5 separate regions of the Homo sapiens genome follow, and regions 1, 2, 3 and 4 are each linked to region 5. Evidence: promoter capture Hi-C in 16 types of primary human blood cells and fetal thymus (Javierre and others, 2016). All regions are on one chromosome and are shown on one strand. The core of a region is centred on a gene start or on the middle of the fragment in contact, and the rest is flanking DNA. Distances in the headings are between cores, read along the strand shown.

Region 1 (2,700 bases), core at 171-2,670, 470 kb before region 5:
TCCTTTGTAGATGGAGATTTTTAAAAAAGCAAGCTGAAGACAGAAGCTAATTTCATGTTGCTTGCTTTGGACTACAGGAAAGAGGGTAACTTTAAGAACAGATTTCTGCTAAGGGCAAGATATGTTTAGATGTATCATCACTCAAATATGGGTTTGGGTAGCAGAACTCTCCAAAATGGCAGATAAAACCAGGGAAGCTAGCCTTAAGAAGACCTCAGTATGGGAGGATATACTGGCTGGTGAGTTTCAGGCCTACCTCTGGTGGGTGCTTGTCCCTTGCCATGAGCATCAGGATCTCTTCTCTCAGGTCACTGCGGAAAGTATGACCATATTCTTTACTATCTTGAAACAAGAAAGGAACAAGGAGTGATCATTGTTATGTAAAACCAACACACTTTTGTTCACTGTCAACCTATTTTTTGGTAGGTAAAAATAAGTTGCTGTTATTTATTCTAGGCTTATCCCAGGATTCCAGAAACCCACCAGGATTCACAGTGGAACAAATGTAAAAGCCAATGCCTGGGCCTTGCTCCAGTGACGTGTTCATCACGGCATGTGCACTACATGGGAGCAGCCACCAGCTCCACGTGGTTAAGACGTTGTTTTATAGCACTTGGGAATTTGATATACTTTTATCACTCATTAGAGCAGTCGTGTGAAGCAGGAGGGCGGGACTAGAGCCTACTGACTTTATGATACAGTAGTCACCTAGTGAAAGATACAGAATATCTATTTCATTTTGCAGCCAAGTTATACACATAAGACACACACACCCGTGATGCGTGATGCTCATGGCTATTACTTGGAAACAGAATCATCACTGACTGTGGTTAGTGAAGTGAGGCAACACTGGCACAGAGGAATTACACAGGCTTCCGGGTCAAAGACCTTTATTCAGATTTAGGGTCTGCCACGCCATTAGCATTTATTTTCTTTGGGTCATATCCCGCAACAGGTGCACAAAACTCAGCTCATTCCTATGTCACGAAGGGACTGACTTAAGTCATTTTCAACAAAATTTTCTCCTGATAGCCAACATGCAACATGAGCACATGACCTTGAAGTACATCTCAACTAACACATTTGGTTCAGTCAAAATGGAAGTTTTCATCCCTAACAGTAATGTTAGCACATTCATTATCAAAGTAGAGGATATTGAGGTGAGATGCACCTGGACACATAAAAAGTAAAACTGACCTTTCCAAATTTTAGGAATCACTTCTAGCCGATTGGCCACATCCAATGCTTGGAGAAGATGTATCATTGTTTGGGAGTGGGGAAAGTAGGCCTGATTAAGAGAAACACATTTTTAAAGCATTAATCTGCAGAAACCCAATTCATCTAGAATGATAAATAACAAGTAATGAACCATCTTACTGAAGGTATCAGGTCCTCATACCACTTCAAGGTAACATCAATTTGTTCCATTAGACAAATCAAATCGAAGAACTTGGAACTGTGATGAAGGCAAAAAGTATGTTTAGTCTAAAGTCCCTATGTCTAACAACAGGGGAAATAAGGGTTGAAATTATAGCATATTATATGTTACAAAGAATTTCAAAATACTTACAGTTTCAAGTTAAACGAGCCAATATTTGGTTTAAGAGCTGCCAGTGTGTGCTGACTTCTCAATTAAACACCCTACCCTCAACTGGTCATTTCTAACTGTTTCCTCTGTATACTCTTAGGTCATGGTGAATAGATACTGAATTTCAAATTCATTTTAAAAACATTCAATGTGAAACAAGGATTTGGATACACAGAAAACAATTCTCACACATCTGTTAACATGCTGCCTTCTTAAATTCATGTTCTTATCTGCCTAAAAGCAAACCCATTTAGGGAGTATCTCTAGGTTCCAGTATCTTCATCTTTGAATACAAAAGCAAGGGAGGTGAAAGGAAATCTTCAGGGCTCACCCTGCTATAACAATTTGAAAATGTAAAATGAGAGGGGGTAGAGGAAAAAGATATGTGGATTTTACAGTGTTGCAAAAAAAAAAAAAAAAAAACCCTTAAAGGACACAAACTAGTCTTTCAAATCTGGCAGTTTTACCACTGCTTTAATTCCTAAGTGCTCAATTAACATGTCCTATTAGATCATTGGCATGTTGCCTGAAACCAGAGGTGAGGTATGAAGGGACATCAACAGCCTCCCACTTGCAGAATCTGGTAACTCATGCAAAAGGATATGTTTCCAACACACTTACTAATAGAAATTACGATGTTGATCAGGTCCAATGAATTTCCAGTTGTCTCCGGTTTTTAAAAGGCCATGTACTTGGTAGGCAAGTTCTAGATCTCTGAGAGATGAGCACTGAAAATATGCAAGTAGTAAGTATCACTCTGATACCCTGTCAGCCAGTGGTTCACAAATAAATAACAACAGTAGAGTGTCTTGTGAAAATAATGTTGATTCAACATATTATTGGTTGACAGCAAGTAAGTTATAAGAAATGGGGGGGAGACAAATCCCAAGTTCTGTGAAATTTATTACAATATTATTTTAATTAAGCAATTATACCATTAAAAATTAATCCTGTAACAACACCTGGTCAAGTGCACAAAAGACACCTGCACTGCAGAGTCTGGACTAGTAAAAATCTCCATGAAATAACTCCAAAATCTACCCACAGGAAAGTTAAGTTATGGTTCTTACTATGAAATACTGGTTGCTGCCAACAAATAAAACACCCTGAAA
Region 2 (2,700 bases), core at 188-2,687, 380 kb before region 5:
GGTGAGGGACCCGGATCGCCCTGGCTGCTCATGCAGCGGAGCCAGGAGTGAAGGCTCAGGTTCCAGTCCTGGCTCTGCCTTGAACTTGCTGTGTGACCTTGGGCAAGTGAGATAACCAGTCCCTGCCTTGGTTTCCTCACCTGGAAGTGGGGCTGTGAGGGGCACCACCTCACAGGGCTGCAGAGAGGCTTCAGGAGCTACTAGTACACAATGCCAAGCCAGTTCCTGGGCAGTTGAGAAAGGAGAGGGGAAATCTCTGCATGAGCTGAAACCACAGCCTGCTTTTCTCTGCCTTTCTGCCCCAGAGCCAGGGTTCTCCATCCTGCTGCTTGGAGGAGCTGGCCTGGCCCTCACCCTGCCTCCTGGGCCCTGGGGCCCAGCCTGAGGAGTGGGGAGGAGGAGGCAATGCCAACACTCATCAAAAGTCAAAGTTCGTCTGTAGTGCTCTCTTGCCTGGCTTTTAGCATCCCTTAGGCTGCTGAGAAGACCGACTTCTCATGGGGACAGGTTCCATCCTTGAGGGGTTTTGTTGACAGGAGCTTTCCTAGCACCTCCCTGAGAACCAGGAAGCTCAGCTTCTAGGGCTGACTGGGGATGCTAGGAGTAGGGAAGTTGTCTTCAGATGCATCTCAGAATGGTTTCTTGTCCCTCCAGTTGCCCTCTTCCCACCACCTCCGCCCACCCAGGCTCTGCCTCTCCTGTGTTGGGCCAAGTCTGTGGAATTCCAGGCACAGGCTAGAAGCCCCAGACTCAGAGCCCCCTTCTCAGCATCTCCCCAGGATCCCCCTGAAGGGGCATGCTTGGTTCTGCTGGCTCTTGAGCCAAGACAGAGCTTCCTACATGGGGCTTGGGTGGCATGTTCGTAAATGTGACATGATGCGGATGTTGGTATTCACGCTGGGAGAGGACCCAGGCCAGGCTCTGCTGGGCGAATCAAGGGCATCACCTTAAATTTTATTCTTCTCCAGCTTCTTTTTAGAATCACGAACTGGATCTGCCAGCCCCTCTACTTCTCCTTTTCCTTCTCCCTTTTTGCTGCTCTTTGGCCAATGAATGAAACCTCGGGGATCCTGGCAGAGGAAGTCCAGCGAGTGCAGGGCAGGGAGCACCTGTTTGACCTCTCAGGGGTTCCAGGGAAGGATTAATGCTGAATGAGGCTTTCTCTTACCTCGAGTGGGATTTGGTACTTAGGTCTGAATAAATATTCTGGCTGTATTGCTTCTGCTTCCTGGATTTACATCCTGATTCTGGGATTTTTAAAGAAGGTGAAGTCACTGACCACTGTGCTGATTTAATCTGCAGGCATGCATGCCTTTTGGCCTACACAGACAGTTCCCAGAGAACAGCCTGCAGATGATGGTGCAGTCGGGAGCCAAAGGTTCAACTGTGAACACGATGCAGGTATGTGCAGAGGCGGGTTGGCAGCTTTACAGGTGTCAGCAAAGGCAGGTGGGGGATAGCAGGAGGTGGTTTCAGTTTGTTCCCTATAAAACATGACAAGTAAAAAGAGGAAAGCGTGTAGAAATCACTACAGGAGCTAACCACTGTTAACATGCCAATGTTAAAGGCAGATGTAGTTATGAATATGCAGATGGGATATGTATAACGTAGATATATATTACAAATTTACAAACTGTACTATTACATATATTCACGTTATATAGATAAATTATGTATACTCACACAATTTTTACGTAATTTTGCATGATTGTTTCTTTCTTTCTTTCGTTTTTTTTCGAGATGAAGTCTTGCTCTGTCACCGGGCTGGAGTGCAGTGGCGCAATCTTGGCTCACTGCAACCTCTGCCTCCCAGGTTCCAGAGATTCTCCTGCCTCTCGGGATTACAGGCATGCGCCACCATGCCTGGCTAATTTTTGTATTTTTAGTAGAGACGGGGTTTCACCATGTTGGCCAGGATGCTTTCAATCTCTTGACCTCGTGATCTGCCCACCTCGACCTCCCAAAGTGCTGGGATTACAGGCATGAGCCACCGCACCTGGCCGATCTTTTCATAATATTAAATTATAAACATAAACATTGTCCTAGAGATTTCTTAACCTTAAACCTTGGTGACCTTGAGAGGGTCTAAAGGCCCACCCCATTGTCTGTTGAGTGTGACAACAGAAAGGCCGAAAGCCGTTAGGAAATCCCCTGACTACATCGAAACCTAGATATACTGCTCTCCTCCAACACGCCAAGAGTATTAACAGGCAGCTTTCTAAGCAAATAGCTCAATAGCTTGAGTTCCCATTTTGTTGTTGTTGTTGTTGTGTTTTGTTTTGTTTTGTTTTTAATTGAAAATAAGACAGAGTCTCCCTGTATTGCCCAGGGTGGTCTCAAACTTCTGGGCTCAAGGGATCCTCCTGCCTCAGCCCCGCAAAGTGCTAAGATTGTAGATGTGAGCCACCACACCCGGCCCTGAGTTCCCTTTTGGCTCTAGAATGTGAGGATCGCAATAAATGGCTGTTTCCTGCAGGCCTCTCTTTCCCCATCAGGACCCTCCAGTCCTTTACAGGTATAACATGAGATGGTTCTGAGACATGGCTCTTTTTATAGAGAGCACCCATTTTCAACTGACCCCAAATGTGAAAATCCAGATCAGTCAACCAAAGGAAGGTATTTTTTTTTTCTTAAAATGAAGGCTTCCTGGTTTGTTTAGAAATGTAGGTTAGCCTTCAAGAACTCGGTTTCCATGCAGCT
Region 3 (2,700 bases), core at 146-2,645, 420 kb before region 5:
TAAGAGCTTACTGAGGTGGTTACTATTCTTATTCCCATATTATAATTGAGAAACTGAAGGCTTAAAGAAGTCACTCAGTAATTGTCAGAGCTCAAGTGTATTAGGGTTCTATGGAAGATTTTGTTTAAGAAAGTGGTGGTGGGGGTGTTTCCGCTGGTTAAAAATAAAAGGTGAAAACCATAAAGTAAATATATTGGATTCTCTTCAAAATGGCACTCCAAGGTTCTCTGACTTTTTTTAAAAAAACAGGTAAAGAACGTGTGTGAGAGCAAGAGCAAGCTCATTGCTCTCTTCTGGAAGGCACATATGAATGCTAAGCGCTGTCCCCACTGCAAGTAAGTATCAGGGCCCTTGCGCCAGGTGAGACGTCTCTGGGCAGTCACTCATTGCTATTATTAAATATCTTACTGGGTTTTTTCTCTCTTCAATCACAACTGTCCTCCTGCACAGGACCGGGCGATCCGTTGTCCGAAAGGAACACAACAGCAAGTTGACTATCACGTTTCCAGCCATGGTGCACAGGACAGCTGGCCAGAAGGACTCTGAGCCCCTGGGTGAGCAGGCTGGGTCTGGAGAGGAGCTCCATGTGAGGCCAGCAGATGTGTCCTAAACCCTGGGAATACCTGGTTCTCCTCACCACGTGTTTCTCTGCTGCATTTGGGAGGGGCCAGCAGAGGCACAGTGTGCAGGCCTCTCAGGCCTGAGGGGACCCTGGCAAGCGCCCAGCTCAGGCCTCTCACATGGGAGAGCTGATGGGAGGGGCTGTTTTATGAGGCAGTGCCCCACAGGCGCCTCTTGCCTTAGGTGGTCGTTTTTCTGAAAGGTTTTTCAGGAAGAAATTAAGAAATTTACCTGACAAATATTTTGAAACATTTTACTGTAAAACAAGTGTGGATCTATTTTGGAATAAAATGTAGGCGAATAATTTTTAAGAAAAACTGCAAGAATTCAGCAAAACATGAGCGCCTCCTGCAGGCTACTCCTGGCTGTCCACCCAGATCCCCCCAGGTAGAATTCTTTCCTCAGCTCTGCCCTACCCAAGCTCTGCTTGGGAAAAATTTTGAGATAACTTAATACTCCCACTTTTTAATTTTTATAGTCATAGGCTTATTTAAAAATGTTTTTTGGTTTTTATTCTGAAGTGGTCAGAAGATTAAATAGAGTATTCCAAGAGAAGCACTGAGAGCGGTACCTGCTGTGTAATATGTGCTATGTAAATGTTAACTGTTCATTTCTTATTATGTCATCAGTGTTCCAGGGTAGAAAATGCATAACCTGGCTGGGCACGGTAGCTCACACCTGTAATCCCAGTACTTTGGGAGGCTGAGGCAGGCAGATCACTTGAGGTCTGGAGTTCAAGACCGGCCTGGCCAACGTGGTGAAACCCCATCTCTGCTAAAAACACAAAAATTAGCCAGGCGTGGTGGCGGGCACCTGTAATCTCAGCTACTCAGGAGGCTAGGGCAGGAGAATCGCTTGAACCCAGGAGGCGCACTCTGCAGTGAGCTGAGATCGTGCCACCGCACTCCAGTCTGGGTGACAGAGCAAGACTCCGTCTCAGAAAAAGAAAGAAAAAGCACAACCTGCAATTGTCACTTGGCTCTGCCACTTTTTCTGAGTGGCAGATAGAAGGCTGTTTTGAGGCGTTTCCATTTCTAACTCTATATAATGGCATTCCTAAAGCCTCTTGCCTAGAATTGAGGAAGTTACATGCATGGCAGTCCATAGCAGATACTGTTACTAAACCTTTCACCAGGGTTTGAGAATATGGGATAAGCATGGAAATAAGATCCCCTCCTGGAGATGCATGATGTATGTTTTACATTGAACACTCTGGCATGGCCTGGACTAAATGAAAAACCTGTTTAATATTTTTTTAAAATGTTATAGTTTAGGATAATTTTTAGACTTAATAGAAGAGTAGTAAACATAGTACAGAGAATTCCTTAATACTGTTTACTTCATTTGCCCTACTGTATAACATAGTAGATTACCATGGTGCATTTGTCAAAACTGAGTTTAACATTGGTGCAACACTATTATCTAAACTACAGACTTTTTAAATTTTGCTGGTTTTCCAGTAATTTCCTTTTTATGCTCCAGGATCCAACCCAGGATACCACACTGCATTTAGAAAGCCTTTTTAATTTTGTTTCATGGTTGGTAGTTAACACTGTAAGAGTGGATTTTCCTACACTTAACCATTAAATTGCCCTCAAAACAATTTTCTTGTATTACCAGTTGGGAATTGCTTCTGTAGCCCTTAGGATGCCTTATAAAATGTTCATAGATTGAGAACAAAGATGGTCAGAATTCTTTCTAGAAGATAGTTTTCGTGGGGCAAATGTCCGGCAGGTAAGTAGCCTTTCAATGCCTTCACCAAACCCATTCTTCTAAAGTCATCTTTCATTGCAGCCACGCAAATATGATGGTGCAACCAAAAGTCTGTGCATTAGAAACAAGTAGACCATAGTCTTCTACAGCTCCAGGCTTGGGTATTCAGTATTTAGCACACATTTATTTGTTGGGTGCTCAGCATTATGCCAAGGACCATGTTTGTGATGAGCACAATGCCAGGACACAGACCAGACCATGTGGTCTCTGCTCTCTGAAGGGGCTGCAAGTGACACAGATCAGTAACCCTGGGGAGCAGGTGATGTGGAGGAAAGTGAGCAGCCTCAGCGTGGGTCTGACCATGTT
Region 4 (2,700 bases), core at 50-2,549, 400 kb before region 5:
ATTGGGAGAGAACAGCCAGTGTATGTAACAAAAGGAAATAGGCCACTCATGTAAAAGGTTTTATTCTCAGAAGAGTCCAGACCAGAGACAGAGAAATGGCTAAGCCAGCAATAGTCTGACTTTCTTTCCCCTTTGTTTGGGGTTCCTGAGTCTGGGTGGCTTCAAGGGAGTGTCTAGCAAGAGTAGACTGCATAGTAGCCTGGTGCAGTGGCTCACACCTGTAATCCCAACACTTTAGGAGACTGAGGCGGGCAGATCACCTGAGGTCTGGAGTTTGAGACCAGCCTGGCTAACATGGTGAAACCCTATCTCTACTAAAAGTACAAAATTAGCTGGGCGTGGGATTAGTGCCTGTAATCTCAGCTACCGGGAGGCTGAGGCAAGAGAATCGCCTCAGCCTGAGGCAAGAGAATCGCTTGAACCCAGGAGGTGGAGGTTGTAGTGAGTCAGGATCAGCCACTGCACTCCTGCCTGGGCAACAGAGTGAGACTCCGTCTCCACAAAAAAAAAAAAAGTAGACTGCATAGTTTCTGTCCTTTGCTTCTAACTTAAATTTGGTGTCCTCATAATACAAATATGGTGGTAATAGGCAGTGGTGCTGGTGGAGTAATAGTAATATTTGTTGGGAAGTTCCATATGTTTGCTGAGTGCTTTAGACACATTATCTGATTTAATACTCACGACTAATCTGCAATGCAGACACCATTATTATCTCCATTTAGGAGATGATAAATTACATGCCCAAGACTACAGGAGACAGATCAAACCCAGGACTTTTCAACCCCAGAAGCATCATACCATACTTCCTCTCAAAGTAACCAAATTACATGATATGTGGCGACCAAATAATGAAAAACAGTAAAATATGTTCTTCTGCTGTTGCCTGAGTATCCAAGTTCAGCCTTAAGGATCAACTTCTAATTGGCTATGTGATCTTAGCCCTGTGTGTCTCAGTTCCTCATCATTTCCTGGGACAGTAGAAATTAACTTGCTAAGCTAAGTTCTGATTCTAAACATGGTTTTTCTCTTTGAAACCAGACTAACCCACAAACAAATTCTTGCATAGTGTAGTCACTCTTGCCCTTTTCACCTGTTGGCAAAAAAAAAGCCCGTACCAACCTTTAGAGACACACTAAAAAATCTCACCCGTGACAGAAGCAAAACCTGGACCTATTTCCTAATTTTATTTGGTACAGAGGATTTTAAAAGGATTCAAGATGTGGCCTCTGGGCATAATGGAATTTGGAAATCAGCAACCAAGATATTTGGAAAAGCCCTCAATATTTGTACTTCTAAATAACGTACTTCTTAAATAGCTCATGGGTCAAAAGAATCTAAAGGGAAATTAGAAAGCATTCTGAAGTAGATGAAATGAAAACACAACAAAATTTGTGGGATGCCACTGAAGCAGAACTTAAGGGGGAAATTTATACATAAAATGCCTAGGTTGAAAAGAAGAAAAAGGGTCCCAAATCAATGACTTCAGCTTCAAGTTCATGATCTCTAAGGTCTCTTCCTGCTCTCCAGTTCTTAGTCTGTGGACCTGGAACTTGATTTTCCTTTTTAAGCCAACCTTGCATTCCTGGATAAACCTTCCTTGGTCGTGAGGTATTATCCTTTTTATATATTATTGAATTCAATTTGCTAATATTTTGTCTAGAATTTTTTTACTTCTGTGTTTGTGATAGATATTGGTCTGTAGTTTTATTTTCTTATAATATGTTTGTTTGGTTTTGGTATCAGGGTAATCCTGGCCTCACAGAATGAGGTGTTAGGAGGTATTTCCTCTGGTTTTCTGTAAGAGTTTGTGTAGTACAGTATTCATATTATTTATTCCTTAAATGTGTTGTAGAATTCACCAGTGAAGGCATCTGGGCCTAGAGTTTCTTTGTGGCAAGGTTTTCTTTCTTTTTTTTTTTTTTTTTTTTTTTTTTTGAGATGGAGTTTTGCTCTTGCTGCCCAGGCTGGAATGCAATGGTGTGATCCTGGCTCACCGCAACCTCCACCTCCCAGATTCAAGCAATTCTCCTGCCTCAGCCTCCCAAGTAGCTGGGATTACAAGCATGCGCCACCATGCCCGGCTAATTTTGTATTTTTAGTAGAGATGGGGTTTCTCCATGTTGGTCAGGCTGGGCTCGAACTCCCAACCTCAGGTGATCCACCAACCTTGGCCTCCCAAAGTGCTGGGACTACAGGCCTGAGCCACCGCGCCCAACCTGTGGGAAGATTTTCAATTAAAATTTCTATTTCTTTAGTAGACATAGAGCTATTTTTGGTTATCTACTTCTTGAATGAGCTTTAATTGTTTGTGTTTTTCAGGGAATTTGTCCATTTCATCTAAGTTACTGAATTTATAGGCACAAAGTTGTTCATAATGCTCCTTTGTTGACCTTTTCTATCTGTATTGCCTGTAGTGGTGTCACTTCTCTCATTCCTGACATTGATAATTTGTGTCTTCTCTTTTTTCCTGATCAGTTTGCCTAGAGGTTTATCAGTTTTATTCTCAAAAAAAAGTCTTTGGTTTTATTGACTTTATTTTTCTGTTTTCTGTTTCGTTGATTTGAACTTTATCACTCCCTTTCTTCTGTTTACTTTGGTTTAATTTGCTCTTTTTTTTTTCCTAGTTCTTTAAGTTCTTTAAGTCAATTTGAGACCCCTTTTCTTCTTTCAATGTAGGCATTTTATGTATAAATTTCCCCC
Region 5 (2,700 bases), core at 123-2,622:
TTTTTTTTTTTTTTTTGAGACAGAGTGTTACCTGGCCAACATGGTGTCAGGAGACTGCCCATCCCAGGGACCAGGAGCCAGGACACCCTCAGCTCAGTCACATGTTTAATGGCCACATGTTTAATGGCCTCACACTCCCATTCCAGAGTGCAGCGGTGCAATCATGGCTCACTGCAGCCGCGACCTGGTGGGCTCAAGCGATCCTCCTGCCCCAGCTTTCTGAGTAGCTGGGACCAGAGACATGCACCACCACACAAGGTTAATTTTTTAATTTTTTTGTAGTTATGGAGTCTTACTATATTGGCCAGGCTGGTCTCAAACTCCAGGGCTCAAAGGATCCTCCCTCCTCGGCCTCCCAAAGTGCCAGGATTACAGGAGTGAGCCACCACACCCAGCCCCATCTCTTTTCATCATGGTACTAATTCCTGCCCGTCCACCCACAAAAGCACTGTAGTGCTTCCCGAGTATAGAGGCCTGTGAGCCTCCACTAGGGAGAGGGCTCCTGCAGAGATCAGATAAATTGATCACAATGGCTGGGGTGGTGGCAATGTGCTAATGCTCTCTTTCTTCCACTCAAGATATCCTCTGTCTCCCTCAGCCTGTGAGCTTTTTCTCCAGTGTGCTCTGCCAGTGGGGGCCCTGCCTGAGAGCCCCTGCAGCTGCAGAGGACAGTTTCTTTCTGCTGAACCATCGCAGCTATGCCCCAGCCCCTACCCTGGAGGGGTCCCCAGGGGCCATGGGCAGCACCTCCTGTATAGGGCTGTCTGGGAGCCACTCCAGGGCCACAGAAATCTTGTCTCTGACTCAGGGTATTTTGTTTTCTGTTTTGTGTAAATGCTCTTCTGACTAATGCAAACCATGTGTCCATAGAACCAGAAGATTTTTCCAGGGGAAAAGGTAAGGAGGTGGTGAGAGTGTCCTGGGTCTGCCCTTCCAGGGCTTGCCCTGGGTTAAGAGCCAGGCAGGAAGCTCTCAAGAGCATTGCTCAAGAGTAGAGGGGGCCTGGGAGGCCCAGGGAGGGGATGGGAGGGGAACACCCAGGCTGCCCCCAACCAGATGCCCTCCACCCTCCTCAACCTCCCTCCCACGGCCTGGAGAGGTGGGACCAGGTATGGAGGCTTGAGAGCCCCTGGTTGGAGGAAGCCACAAGTCCAGGAACATGGGAGTCTGGGCAGGGGGCAAAGGAGGCAGGAACAGGCCATCAGCCAGGACAGGTGGTAAGGCAGGCAGGAGTGTTCCTGCTGGGAAAAGGTGGGATCAAGCACCTGGAGGGCTCTTCAGAGCAAAGACAAACACTGAGGTCGCTGCCACTCCTACAGAGCCCCCACGCCCCGCCCAGCTATAAGGGGCCATGCACCAAGCAGGGTACCCAGGCTGCAGAGGTGCCATGGCTGAGTCACACCTGCTGCAGTGGCTGCTGCTGCTGCTGCCCACGCTCTGTGGCCCAGGCACTGGTGAGTCTCCCCCAGCCTCCCCTCTCCTAGGCAGCTCCACCACTCACTGAGCACTGCTTTGTGCTAGGCATTAACCCAAGTCTGTCCTCATTTTAAAGACAAGGCAGCTGGGGTTCAGAGAGGGTTCAGAGCTTATCCAAGGTCACACAGCTGGCGGGTCCAGGAGCAGGTGGAACCCAGAGCTGTCTGACGTCCACATGTTTAATGGCCTCACACTCCCAGCAAAACTGGGTCTAGAGGGTGGGTGAAATCATGATGCCAGGTGTGTAGCCTGGATCCTGATTAAGGTTGCTCTGGCCCCAAACCACAGCTGCCTGGACCACCTCATCCTTGGCCTGTGCCCAGGGCCCTGAGTTCTGGTGCCAAAGCCTGGAGCAAGCATTGCAGTGCAGAGCCCTAGGGCATTGCCTACAGGAAGTCTGGGGACATGTGGGAGCCGTGAGTACCACCAAGGATGCATGGCAACTGGGGGTCTGAAATGAAGGGTGCTGGGTGGGCTCTGGATGGGCAGGAGGAGAGTGGAGCCCCCATAGGGGATGGATGAGATGAAATGGGATGAGATGAAATGAGATAGGATAAAATGGAATGGGATGGATGCGATGGGATACGATGACATAGAATAGATGGAGTCGGATGAATGGGATGGGATGGGATGGATGGGAGGGGAAGGGATAGGATAGGATGACATAGAATAAAGATGGATGGGATGGGATGGGATGGGATGGGATGACACAGAATAAAGATGGATGGATTGGGATGGATGAATAGAAGAGATGGATGGGATAAATTGATATGGATGAGATGGGACAAGTTGGGCTGGTGGGCAGCTGCATGTGCCTTGGAGTGCTCTGTTGGCCTCTTCCTAAGAGAACCTCCCCATTGGAGCTGGGAGCCTCCCCCACTCATGTGTCCTCCACCTTGGGGCCCCTCCCTCCCCAGGATGACCTATGCCAAGAGTGTGAGGACATCGTCCACATCCTTAACAAGATGGCCAAGGAGGCCATTTTCCAGGTAATGATGCCCAGATCCTGGATGAAGGTTGGGGCCCAAGAGATGAGGGACAGAGCAGGGAAGAGCTGAGCCCCCTAAAGGGGCCATTTCCAGGCTGAGGAGGAGGCCTGGGTGCCTGGGAAGTCCCAGCTCCTCCTGGCTGGGAGCAGGTCATGGCCCTGAGCTCAATAGCACAGCCAGAGATGGTCTTCCCTGAGGGGAAGGGCCCCTACATGTGCCCAACTACTTAACTCCT

What was found. The method cuts DNA at HindIII sites, captures the fragments that hold promoters and counts their contacts. A CHiCAGO score of 5 or more calls a contact.
Region 1: a contact is called between a fragment that was not itself captured here and the fragment with the promoter of SFTPB in region 5, in 2 of 17 cell types (fetal thymus and M1 macrophages). The highest score is 6.2, in fetal thymus.
Region 2: a fragment that was not itself captured here is called in contact with the fragment with the promoter of SFTPB in region 5 in 1 of 17 cell types (neutrophils); the score reaches 6.3 in neutrophils.
Region 3: a contact is called between a fragment that was not itself captured here and the fragment with the promoter of SFTPB in region 5, in 3 of 17 cell types (neutrophils, M0 macrophages and fetal thymus). The highest score is 6.9, in neutrophils.
Region 4: a fragment that was not itself captured here is called in contact with the fragment with the promoter of SFTPB in region 5 in 1 of 17 cell types (monocytes); the score reaches 6.6 in monocytes.

What each region holds. Positions count from the first base shown.
Region 1 is chr2:86,131,934-86,134,633 of GRCh38, reverse strand. PTCD3 (pentatricopeptide repeat domain 3) reads right to left here. Exons shown (of 24, transcript NM_017952.6): 17 at 2,210-2,316; 18 at 1,378-1,456; 19 at 1,198-1,288; 20 at 257-342. Among named protein-coding and RNA genes, the nearest start is that of SNORD94, 2.6 kb to the left of the region's middle. The HindIII fragment of the contact is 3,229 bases long and covers 1-2,700 here.
Region 2 is chr2:86,045,866-86,048,565 of GRCh38, reverse strand. It overlaps POLR1A (RNA polymerase I subunit A), which reads left to right. Exons shown (of 34, transcript NM_015425.6): 19 at 1,303-1,401. Among named protein-coding and RNA genes, the nearest start is that of POLR1A, 59 kb to the left of the region's middle. RefSeq lists an enhancer at 2,136-2,700. The HindIII fragment of the contact is 4,266 bases long and covers 1-2,700 here.
Region 3 is chr2:86,086,420-86,089,119 of GRCh38, reverse strand. It overlaps POLR1A (RNA polymerase I subunit A), which reads left to right. Exons shown (of 34, transcript NM_015425.6): 5 at 250-335; 6 at 451-554. Among named protein-coding and RNA genes, the nearest start is that of POLR1A, 18 kb to the left of the region's middle. The HindIII fragment of the contact is 6,532 bases long and covers 1-2,700 here.
Region 4 is chr2:86,062,571-86,065,270 of GRCh38, reverse strand. The region is part of intron 14 of POLR1A (RNA polymerase I subunit A); the gene reads left to right. Among named protein-coding and RNA genes, the nearest start is that of POLR1A, 42 kb to the left of the region's middle. The HindIII fragment of the contact is 7,905 bases long and covers 1-2,700 here.
Region 5 is chr2:85,666,871-85,669,570 of GRCh38, reverse strand. SFTPB (surfactant protein B) reads left to right here and starts at 1,372. Exons shown (of 11, transcript NM_000542.5): 1 at 1,372-1,454; 2 at 1,765-1,892; 3 at 2,394-2,465. The coding sequence starts at 1,388. The HindIII fragment of the contact is 15,484 bases long and covers 1-2,700 here.